Regions from separate parts of the Homo sapiens genome. Here regions 2 and 3 are each linked to region 1. The links are contacts of gene promoters, found by promoter capture Hi-C in blood cells and fetal thymus (Javierre and others, 2016). All regions are on one chromosome and are shown on one strand. Each heading gives the region's core, a stretch centred on a gene start or on the middle of the fragment in contact. The rest is flanking DNA. Distances are from core to core; before and after follow the strand shown. Region 1 holds the start of CAMSAP1 (calmodulin regulated spectrin associated protein 1). Region 2 has its middle 21 kb from the start of TMEM250. Region 3 holds the start of TMEM250 (transmembrane protein 250).

Evidence for each region. The method cuts DNA at HindIII sites, captures the fragments that hold promoters and counts their contacts. A CHiCAGO score of 5 or more calls a contact.
Region 2: a fragment that was not itself captured here is called in contact with the fragment with the promoter of CAMSAP1 in region 1 in 1 of 17 cell types (neutrophils); the score reaches 5.1 in neutrophils.
Region 3: a contact is called between a fragment that was not itself captured here and the fragment with the promoter of CAMSAP1 in region 1, in 10 of 17 cell types (naive CD8 T cells, neutrophils, naive B cells and 7 more). The highest score is 9.3, in naive CD8 T cells.

Annotation. Positions count from the first base shown.
Region 1 is chr9:135,905,504-135,909,130 of GRCh38, reverse strand. It overlaps CAMSAP1 (calmodulin regulated spectrin associated protein 1), which reads left to right and starts at 1,585. Exons shown (of 17, transcript NM_015447.4): 1 at 1,585-2,131. The coding sequence starts at 1,972. CAMSAP1-DT (CAMSAP1 divergent transcript) reads right to left here and starts at 1,298. Exons shown (of 2, transcript XR_007061860.1): 1 at 212-1,298. RefSeq lists silencers at 1,017-1,696, 1,737-1,846, 1,927-1,996, 2,397-2,446 and an enhancer at 3,093-3,627. The HindIII fragment of the contact is 15,122 bases long and covers 1-3,627 here.
Region 2 is chr9:136,138,125-136,141,751 of GRCh38, reverse strand. No RefSeq gene overlaps it. Among named protein-coding and RNA genes, the nearest start is that of TMEM250, 21 kb to the right of the region's middle. The HindIII fragment of the contact is 3,792 bases long and covers 1-3,627 here.
Region 3 is chr9:136,115,946-136,119,572 of GRCh38, reverse strand. TMEM250 (transmembrane protein 250) reads left to right here and starts at 698. Exons shown (of 2, transcript NM_152833.3): 1 at 698-1,088; 2 at 2,549-3,627. The coding sequence starts at 2,673. The coding sequence ends at 3,092. It overlaps LOC107987142 (a long non-coding RNA gene), which reads right to left and starts at 1,781. Exons shown (of 2, transcript NR_165242.1): 1 at 1,671-1,781. RefSeq lists enhancers at 1-447, 1,601-2,176, 2,177-2,752 and silencers at 115-504, 535-1,584. The HindIII fragment of the contact is 6,377 bases long and covers 1-3,627 here.

The DNA of each region.
Region 1 (3,627 bases), core at 336-2,835:
ATATAACAGTAGATGGCCTCCTGCCTCCTCCTCAGCCCTTCCTAGTCTGTTCTTCACCCAGGAGTCAGAATGACCCTTTTAAAGGGTTAGTCATATCCTTCCGTGTGCTCAGTCTTCCGAAGGCTGCCCATTTCCTGCAGAGAAGGGGCCACAGTTCTGACTGTGCAGGACCTGTCTGCATCCCTCCATGTCCCCACCTCCCATTTCCTACCAGTCCTTCCAGCTCCTGCGTTCTCGACTTAGTGGCCTCTACTGTGTTTCTTACACTCCAGGCTCTCGTGTCTCAGAGGCTCTGTCTGCCGTGCTCCTTGCTCAAGACAGTACTTCTGCAGATATCCTTACCCTCGACGCCCACGTCCCGCCGGTCTTTGCTCAAATAAGTGCCCTCCTCCTATGGCTTTCCTTGACCGCTCTGCCCTGTCCACCTCGTGTTCTTTTCAGACGGCTGACTCAAGAAAAAATAGACAATCTCAACAGACCTATAACAAGTGAAGAGACTCAATTAGTAACCAAAAAACTATGAATCAAATAAGTCATCAAAAAAGCCCAGGCCCAAATGGCTTCAAGGTTGAATTGAAGCCTGCACGTGGGTTGGTATGTGAATGACGGACTGCCTGGGTCCTCTGGGCACCTGGCATTTCATACATGTTCCGCCTCTGGCACGGGGTGTCTCGACCAGGTACAGACAGGCTGGGAGCCCCGCGCCGGGCGCCCGCTCCCTGGAAGCTCGACCTCTCCCTGCCGTCAAGGCGCCGGTGGGCGGCACGTGGGCCGGCTCTCCCGGGGGCAGTTCTCTATTTCGCTGGTGAGGTTCTCAGACCAAATCCTCGGAATGCAAACTCTCACGGCGTTCCCGTAATTCTCAGCCCAGCGCGGGCCCCGACGCAGGCTCCAGGGGAACGAAGTCAGCGTCCCTTCCGGGGGATGCGCCGGCGGGGCCGCACCTGTTTCTGCCTCAGGGGTCCAAACGCCCACCTTCCCTGCACCGGGACGGGGGTCTGGAGACTGGCACGTCCACCTGGTGCCCGTCTGCTGGGCTGTCGCCTGCCGAGGTCGCCGCCGGCCACACCCACGAGGTCCCCAGGGCGCCGGCGGCGAGACCTCGGCCGGCCAGGGGGCCGGGCTGTGGCTGAGGTGGGACGAGCCAGGGCCGGGGAGGAGACACGGCGCTAAAAGAGGGCAGCTGCGGGCTCGGCAGGATCCCCGCCGCCGACCCACTCCACCCACCCCGCGCCGCCCACTCCCCGCTGCCTACGCCGCGCTCCACACCGCGGGCCTTAGAGCCTGAGGAAAGCAACGGGGCAGGCGCGGACCAGGGCGGGTCCTACTGCGCCTGCGGAAGCGGGCGGGGAGGGGCGGGTCGACGCTCACTGCGCCTGCGGAAAGGGGCGGGGCAGGCACAGGCCTGCGGGTGCCACCTACTGCGCCTGCGGAAAGGGGCGGGGCGGGCGCGGGCTGGCGGGCGGTGCCTACTGCGCCTGCGGAAAGGGGCGGGGCAGGCGCGAGAAGGGAGCGGAGCTGGGGGCGGGGTCGAGGGCGGGGTGGCGGGCGGTGCCTACTGCGCCTGTGCGAGGCCCCGGCGGTGAGCGCGCTCCCGCTCCTTGGCCACCGCCTCAGCCGCTGTCGCCGCCGCCGCCGCTCACCCGGGACCGCGCACGCGCTGCCACCGCCCCCGGCCCGCTCCCGCCCCCGCGCCCGCCCCCGCCCCCGGCCCGCGCCCTCCTGCCGCCGCCTCTTTGGGCCGCGGGCTCGGCACCTCCTCCGCTCGGGCTCAGCGCCCGCAGCATGCAGCAGCCGCGGGGGCGGCGACGGCGGCGGCTGTGAGGTGAGGCGGGGGCCGCGCTCGGGCGCCCCTCCCGGCTGGCCGGCTGCGGGGCCGAGTGGTGGCTCGGGGCGCACCGGGCCCGGCGCGGCGAGGGGCGGCGGCGCCTTTGTTGCGGCCGGGCCGCCGCCTCAGCCCTTTGTCTGCAGATGGTGGACGCGAGCGGCCGCGCCGCCGCCGAGGGCTGGAGGAAGATGGAGGCCCCGCCGGACGGCGCCGCCGACCTCGTGCCCCTGGACCGCTACGACGCGGCGCGCGCCAAGATCGCCGCCAACCTGCAGTGGATCTGCGCCAAGGCCTACGGCCGAGGTGGGCCGGGTGAGGGGCGCGGGGCGGGGGCCAGGGGCGCGGGCCGGGGCCGGGGGACGCGGCCGGGGTCCGGCCGGGTCGGGGTCCGCGCGCCGCGCCTTTGTGCCGCGTCCGCACAGGGTCGGGGCTGGGCCGGCCGCCTCCGAGGTCCTGGCGGCGCCCGGGCAACGCGGAGCGTGGGGACGCGGTCACCTGGCGAGTGGGCGTCCCTGCGGCGGAGGGCGGCGTGGGTCGGGGCTTCCGCTCCTATTTCGGGAGTGCCCCCAGCCTCCCGTTGGCGGCGGCGGCGGCGGGAAGGAGCTGCCCGGTTCTGGGCGCAGGGAGGGACCATGGGGACGCGGGGCCGCCGTCTGAGGCGCCGCTTCCCGGCGCGCCGGGCATCGTCCAGTGCTGGACCTGTGATTCCGAGCCTTGCACTTGTTATGAATTTTGATGCTTACAAGCTGTCAGCTGTTGAATTCCCCAACTAGAAATTGCGTATTCCGCGCATTGTGCTTAATCATAATGATCCCCTTTGGTTAATTCCTGTTTGGAAGAACTAGGTAACCTTGTTACTCAGTCCAGTTTGTTAGGCCCTAATGTGCTTAGTGGATTAAGACGCTTCTGTTTCGTGCCCTGGGAACAGGACAGACCTAGTGATTCTCGTCAGTGGCTGACTTCTTTATTAATTTCAGGTGCTTTGTTTCAGGTACAATTAAAGGTTAATATTTCTGCAATCCTCTTTTCATTTGAAGCATTCTTAAAATATTTGCCTTTATTCTGGTGAAAAATTACCCTTTTTAGAGTAAGACTAAAGGAGACAGCCCTTCCAGAGAAGAGTTCAGTTGACCAGTTTGGAAAACGCTGAGTAGGCGTTGCCCTGTTTGACAGTGGCCTGTGCCCCAGCTAGACTCGAGTTAGTCATAAGGACAAACGCGTTTTGTAAGTTTTAGGGATTAAATAACTCGCCTTATTTCAAACTGGTTTTTGTACTGTGTAAGTAGTAATTGGGAAAGAGTTTTTCCTTTGACAGTTTTCAGTTTTACAGTTCTTGTTTACTGGCTCAGTGGAACCTTAGTTTCTGTGTTGTAATGAGGAAGAAACACTGCTACATCCAAGACTTCACATGAGTTTTTGAGAACGGAATTGGTAAGATGTAGGTATGAAACTTGAGTCAGGTGCAAAGAACAGCCCGAGAGCGGACGCCTGGGTATCTTGCAGTCACTGCCGGCTGCGTGGGCTCACCTGCCTCACACCTTGTGTTAGTCACTGTTTTGCTTTTCTTTGTATTTTGCCGCATGTGCTTACACCACGAACTAGTTTTTACACCTTTGCCAATGATGTCTCTTTCTGAGACTGGCTTTTGTTATTCCCTTATCCCACGTTACGTTCTTAGGTTCTTCTTGACTTCATCTTCACTTTTCCACATTTCCGCTGCTGTGGAGTGTCTCACTGAGGACTGTTCACCGCAGCTGCTCGTGGGCGCTGGCTGGGCTCCCGTAGGTGCTGTGGAGCCC
Region 2 (3,627 bases), core at 545-3,044, 230 kb before region 1:
TGACGGGGCAGGCGGCCTGCACTTAGCCTCTATATTTTATTTATTTATTTTGAATTTTTATTCATTTTTATTGCTTTTTGAGACGGAGTCCCCCTCTGTTGCCCAGGCTAGAGTGCGCAATCTCGGCTCACTGCAACCTCCGCCACCCAGGTTCAATCAATTCTCCTGCCTCAGCCTCCCGAGTAGCTGGGACTACAAGCATGCACCAACACGCCCAGTTAGTTTTTGTATTTTTAGTAAAGACAGGGTTTCGCCATGTTGGCTAGACTGGTCTCAAACTCCTGACCTCAGGTGATCAGCCCACCTCGGCCTCCCAAAGTGCTGGGATTACAGGTGTGAGCCACTGCACCCAGCTGACCTCTATATTTTAAATAATAGCTTTATTGAGATAGAACTCACATCGCATCCAATTTATCCAGTTAGAGCGTATGATTCAATGGCTTTCTGTATACTCACGGATGTGTGCAACTATCAACACAGTCAATTTTGGAACATTTTCTTCACTTCAGAAAGAAACCCCAGGAAATTCTGGCACGAGCTACGATGGGGACGTGCCTGGAGGATGTTGTGCTCAGGGAAAGCAGCCAGCCATGAAAAGGCAAGGCCTGCCTGATTCCTCCTCCGAGAGGCCCTGGAGACAGACAGCAGAGGCGTGTACGCCAGGGGCGGGGGGAGGGGGTGGGAACAGAGCTTCAGTTTGGAAAGAGGGAAAGCTGTGTCGATGGAGGAAGATGTTGTTTGCACAGCAACGTGAATGCACTTAATGCCACTGAGGCGTGCGGTTCAGAATCGTGAGGATGGAGTGATGGTTAATTTCATGTGTCAACTTGACTTGGCTGCTGGGTTCCCAGATATCTGTTCGAACATTTGGCTGGGTGCAGTGGCTCATGCCTGTAATGCCAACGCTTTGGGAGGCCGAGGCCAGAGGATCGCTTGAGCCCAGGAGTTTGAGACTAGCCTGGGCAACACAGTGAGACCCGGTCTCTACAAAAATAAATAAATTAGGCTGGCCACAATGGCTCACCCTGTAATTCCAGCACTTTGGGAGGTCGGGGCAGGTGGATGACTTGAGGCCAGGAGTTCGAGACCAGCCTGGCCAACATGGTTAAACCCCGCCTCTACTAAAAAATACAAAAATTAGCCGGGCCTGGTGGTGCACACCTGTAATCCCAGCTACTCGGGAGGCTGAGGCACGAGAATCACTTGAAGCTGGGAGGCGGAGGGTACAGTCAGCTGAGTTCGTGCCACTGCATTCCCGTCTGGGTGACAGAGTGAGACTCTGTCTCAAAAAATAAATAAATAATAAATAAGCTGGGCATGGTGGTGTGCACCTGTAGTCTCAGCTACTTGAGGCTGAGGTGGGAGGGACACATAAGCCCAGGAGTTCGAGGCTGCAGTGAGCCGAGATCACGCCACTCATTCCTTTTTTTTTTAGGCCCACATCACAGTTCCCTCAATAGATCTATTGTTTATCCACTCACCCATCCATGGGCCTTGGGGCTGTTTCCACATTTTGGCTTTTGTGAGTAACGCTGCTGTGGACATTCCTGTGCAAGTTCTTGCAGGTGCCTGCTTTCATTTTTTTGGGTTTGAACCCAGGAATTGGATTGCTTGGTCACATGGTAACTGTGCTTCAGAGTCTGAAGAACCACCAGAGTGTTTTCGCAAAGCTCAACCATTATTCCATTCTATTCTATTCTATTCTATTCTATTCTATTCTATTCTATTCTATTCTATTTTAATTTTTAGTCAAGTCTTGCTCTGTCACCCAGGCTGGAGTGCAGTGGCTCGATCTCAGCTCACTGCAACCTCTGCCTCCCAGGTTCAAGCAATTCTCCTGACTCAGCCTTCTGAGTAGCTGGAACTACAGGCATGCACCACTATGCCCAGCTCATTTTTGTATTTTTAGTAGAGACGGGCTTTCACCATGTTGGCCAGGCTGGTCTTGAACTCCTGACCTCAGGTGATCCACCCGCCTCAGCCTCCCAAAGTGCTGGGATTACAGGTGTGAGCCACCGCACTCAGCCCTTACCTCTATTCTATTGATTGATTGATTGATTTTTTTTTTTTTTTTTTTTTGGTAAGAGATAGAGTCTCACTCTGTCATCCAGGCTAGAGTACAGTGGTGTGATCACAGCTCACCACAGGCTTGAACTACTGGGTTCAAATGATTCTCCCACCTCAGCCTCCTGAGTAGCTAGGACTACAGGCACGCACCACCACAACTGGCTAATTTTTTTTACATTATTTTTTGTAGAGATGGAGTCTCGCTATGTTGCCCAGGCTGGTCTCCAACTCCAGGCTTCAATCAGTCCCCCCTCGTCTTCCCAAAGTGCTGGGATCACAAGCAGGAGCCCCTGTGCCCCGCCACCAGCCTCTATTTTTAAAAGCTGTTTGTGGCTGGGTGCAGTGGCTCACGCCTGTAATCCCAGCACTTTGGGAGGCCAAGGTGGGCGGATCACCTGAGGTCAGGAGTTCGAGACCAGCCTGACCAACATGGAGAAACCCCGTGTCTACAAAAATGCAAAAATTAGCCAGGCATGATGGCGGGTGCCTGTAATCCCAGCTACTCAGGGGGCTGAGGCAGGAGAATTGCTTGGACCTGGGAGGTGGAGGTTGCAGTGAGCCAAGATCGTGCCATTGCACTCCAGCCTGGGCAACAAGAGCGAAACTCCATCTCAAAAAAAAAATAAATAATAAATAATTAAAAAAATCCCTGCTTTTATGATCTATTCCAATTAGGAAAGAGAAATTTCCTTCTACAGAAGGTATTCTCCCGCCCTGGGAGCAGCCAAGAGTCAAAGGTCACCACTGCATACTGGACAGGAGGGCTTGTGTCCTTCTGAGGCTTTCAGTAATGAAGGGCTGTCGCCGGAGCTGCTGTTCCAGATGCTTGGGGGGCTTTAATCTCGAGGTGACTTGGAGGCTCACATGTCCTGCAGAGGGCGCTGGCGTTCCTGGGAGACAGGTGAGTGAAGGGTTTCCTGTGTGCAAACACCCCACTGCCTTTCTTGTGTCCCGCTCCTTCCCGGGAGCCATCAAGCTCCAGTGCAGCCACCGCGTGGTGCTCTGTACTCTAGGGACCTGGCTGGGGACATGTGAGGCACCACTGGGTGAGACCACCTGCCATCAGGACTACAGCTCCCTCAGGAGCAAGGCAGGGCTGAAACTGTCCAGGAAGGACCAAACTTTCCAAAAATAACCCACAAAATGGATTCCCTGCACCCCACATCCTCCTCCCCATCCAGAGGCCCCCTGGGATCACCTAAGGAAACCCCTCTCCACCGCCAGCCCGGGGACCAGCAGAGACCCGAGCCACTGTGGGATTTCCAGAAACCCCACCCAGTAGCAAGGGCGGCCTTTCCCCATGGCGAAAAACCCTTGGCCTAGGGAAGGGAGGTTTTGGGGAGGGGAGAGGAGGGAAGGGGAAGGGAGGGGGAGGGAGGGGGAGGGAGGGGAGAGGAGGGGAAGCGAGGGGAGAGGAGGGTGGGTCAGCAGAGGATTCTGCCCGTGCTGCTGTGAGACAAACCTCACCCAGCGGAGGAGGGATTTTCCTTTTTGGCTGTCCGACTCCACCTGCCAAAATTCACAAGCTCACACAAAAGAGGTGTTTGGCACTTGAATTCC
Region 3 (3,627 bases), core at 321-2,820, 210 kb before region 1:
GGAGCGCTCCCCAACACATTCCTCGCTGGAAACCCCCAGGACAACCGCCAGCCTGTACGAACCAGGCGTGAGGACACTAACACAAGTCCCCTTCCTTCACTGGGGGGCGGCGGGGGGGCGGCCCTGGGGCTGCTGCTGGGCCTGCTCGTGCTCCGGGGCTGTCCCTACTTCGGCTGCCGACGTCGCCGCCGGCCCACCGGGCCTCGCAGCTACACACCCGATCCGTGCCGCCCGGGTCCGCGTGGCGTCAGCCGCCCCCACCCTTCCCCGCCCTCCTGGAGCCTGGGGGGCGCCCTCATTCCCGCCGCCGCCCTGTCCTCCCAGCCCCAGGCCGCGCAGGAGGCCTTCGCACACGGCCCCGCGAGGACCAGACCTGCTCCCGGTCCCTGGGCCGCCCACCCCCGCCGGGAAAGCGGCTTCCTCCGGGGCCCGGCCCCACCCCAGCGACGGCAGCAGCGCGCCGGGTCGCAGACACCTCAGTCCGGGGCCAGGACCACGGTCAAGCCCTCTGCTGGGGCCAAAGGACTGCTCCACGGAAGCGCGCCTGCGCACTGCCTCTCCACGGGATGCGGTAGCGCGTGCGCGGAGGCGCGGCCCAGGAACGGCAAGCGCAGGCGCAGAAGACCAGGCGCGGCACCGAGGGCGTTCGGGGGAGGGAACGCTACGGACTGCTCGCAGCGTGCGCACGCACGCACGCACGCACGCCCTCGGGAAGCGACGAGTCCGGGACGCCCAGCGCGGGCCCGGAGCAGGGGGAAGGGAAGTGCGGCTCGGTCGGCGCGGGTGGAGGGGGCGTGAGGCCGCCCTACGGTGGCCGTCGAGGGACGGCGCTACGGCTCCCACGCTAGGCCAAACGCCTCCGGCGGCCGCGCCCGAGAGCCCCTTCACCTGCAGGGCGACCCCAGCCGGCGACGCGTGAACCACGCCCTCAGCCGCCTTGCCAGCGCCCCCAGCCGCGCGCCCCAGCACCATGCGGCCGCCCTGCGCACGGAGCCCCGAGGGACAGGGGCACCCGCAGGCCCGGCCCCTAGCACCGCCGGCCGGCCCCGAGGTCCGGGACGCCGGCGCCGCCGCGGAGAGGGCACCGGGTGAGCTGCGGTCGGGGACCCGGCCTAGGCGGGGGCCGTCTCCAGGGCAACGCGCGGCGCGGGACCCGGAAGTGGCTCCGGCAGGGGCTCTGCAGCCAGGGGGCCCGGCGCGGCGCGGCGCAGGCCCGGTGCTCACGCGGAGTTGGCCGGGGCCCGTTGCGTCTCTGCGGCCCCGAGGAAACAGTCCTGGGTCCATGGGCCGGGCCGAGCGGGCGTCTGCAGAAACGCAGGGACCCGGATGGAGCCGCGGGCCGCGAGACCCTGCGGGGACACAGCTCCGCCGAGTCGCGTTTGAGTGGCACCGCCATGGCCGGGGTCCCGGCCGGGGCGAGCTCCAGGCCAAGGCCGGCCTTAAATAGGGCCGCTCTGGCCCCTGCACCCCGTGGAGGAGCCGGGCGGAGGGAGAGGGCGAGGTCGGGCCCCTGCGGGCACGGGAGGGTCAGGCGGCCCCGGCCCCTCCCTCCTCCGCCCTGGCCAGGTCCCCACGGCAGGGCCCCAGGCTGAATCTGAAGGCAGGCGAAGCTCTTGGCAACAGTCCCCTGTAATGTTACCAACTTTCCTGCTCAGATTTTATTTCCTGACCTTTGAGTTCATTCCGTCTACAGATTATTTCGGCAAGGTATAAACGGCCTTTACTAGGTGAAGCTGGAGAGCCAAATGCCGCCTCTGCTCTTTGCAGCCCAGTCTGTAAGGGCCGCTGCCAGGCCCCGGGCCGACCCCACTGTGCACGCCAGGCCCAGCCCCTTCCCTCCCACAGCTACCCACAAAGGCAGTGCTATTGGCACCCCCATTGGACAGAGCAGGAGCCGTCTTGGGGTCAGGTGACCTGCCCAAAGTCACTGCTAGGGAAGGACAGTGCCAGGGTTCAGGCCCAGCAAGGTGACCCCACGGCCCCCGAGCCGTCCATCTGGCACCCAGCAGGTTGCTGGAGTCACCTGCTCCCGCCGGGCTCGTTTTCGGTTCACCTGCGAGCCCTGGAGTCCCTTTTCCCGGCCCTGTGGTGGCTTCTTGCAGATGCCATTTAAGGGCTTGCATCAGCCCTGGGTCAGGCAGCCGCAGAAGACCAGGGCAGTAACGGGCAAACTGCCTAAGAGCAGAGTGTGGTCCAGCTAGTGGGGAGCTGCGAGGATCCTGCAGGAAAGAGCCACTCTTGCCCCTTCCCATCCGTTTTGGCATTGACCACTTCCGGGGGCCTCCCCTGGCCACTGTCCCCAAGGCCCCCTTTCCCCAGTGCTGCCCTAGAACAAGCACTTTGGCTTCCCCAGGTGGTGGGCCCCTTGGAAGTATCCTTGGGAGGGTTTGTGGAAAAGAGCCCAGGAGTGCCTGCAGATCCCGCCCTGGACTCCATTTTCCCGTAGTCCTGGTGCTGGAGTTTGTGTCCACTTTCGCCAGCTGATTGCCTGGGGAGGGATCCGCATGGTGTCCTCATACTGACGTGGGTTTTGCGGCTCTCCCCGCAGGCCGACGCCTCCCCCCAGGGTCAGCTGCGGGCTCCCAGGCCTAGGCGCCCATGACCCCTACGCCAACAGCCGCCTGGACACCGCCGCCGCCACTGCGACCTAGCGCCGCCGCCGCCGGGGCCCAATGCCGGTCATGCCCATTCCGCGGCGGGTGCGCTCCTTCCACGGCCCGCACACCACCTGCCTGCATGCGGCCTGCGGGCCCGTGCGCGCCTCCCACCTGGCCCGCACCAAGTACAACAACTTCGACGTGTACATCAAGACGCGCTGGCTGTACGGCTTCATCCGCTTCCTACTCTACTTTAGCTGCAGCCTGTTCACTGCGGCGCTCTGGGGTGCGCTGGCCGCCCTCTTCTGCCTACAGTACCTGGGCGTTCGCGTCCTGCTGCGCTTCCAGCGCAAGCTGTCGGTGCTGCTGCTGCTGCTGGGCCGCCGGCGCGTGGACTTCCGCCTGGTGAACGAGCTGCTCGTCTATGGCATCCACGTCACCATGCTGCTGGTCGGGGGCCTGGGCTGGTGCTTCATGGTCTTCGTGGACATGTGAGGGCCGTGGGTGCGAGCTTGATGTATCGTCCCGGCCTGTGGCTGTGTTCTCTCCATGGGTGGGGTCGGCCAGCGCCTTCCCTTCGCCCATCCCCCAGGCAGTCGCTGCTGCCCGGCGCCCACGGAGAGAAAAGAAAGGGCTGAGACTTCTGTGATGGGGGCGCGGACACCACCCCTAGGCTGGCTTCCTGGACCCACCCTCCCCGTATGCACTCTCAGGGGCAGCGCCCACCTGCCGGTGGCTCCTGCTCACATGTCTTCGGGTCGTACTGCGGGGTGGGCCCTCCGTTCCGCCTCTCTGTGGGCCTCTCTCCAGGACCACAGCTGCCAGGGACTTTAGACATCACCCTGGGAGGCCCCTGGACACAGAGGGCTGTGTGCCCAGGAGCAATTCCGGAGGGGGGCCCTCCTGGCTGCACAGCCCCTTCTGCGTGCCCTGGCCCCAGCCCCAGCCAACGGGACACGGAAGGCTCCCCTCGCTGACACACCACACTGCCACAAAGCTGCTTACTCTGCCCTGGGCCGCCTGAGGCCTG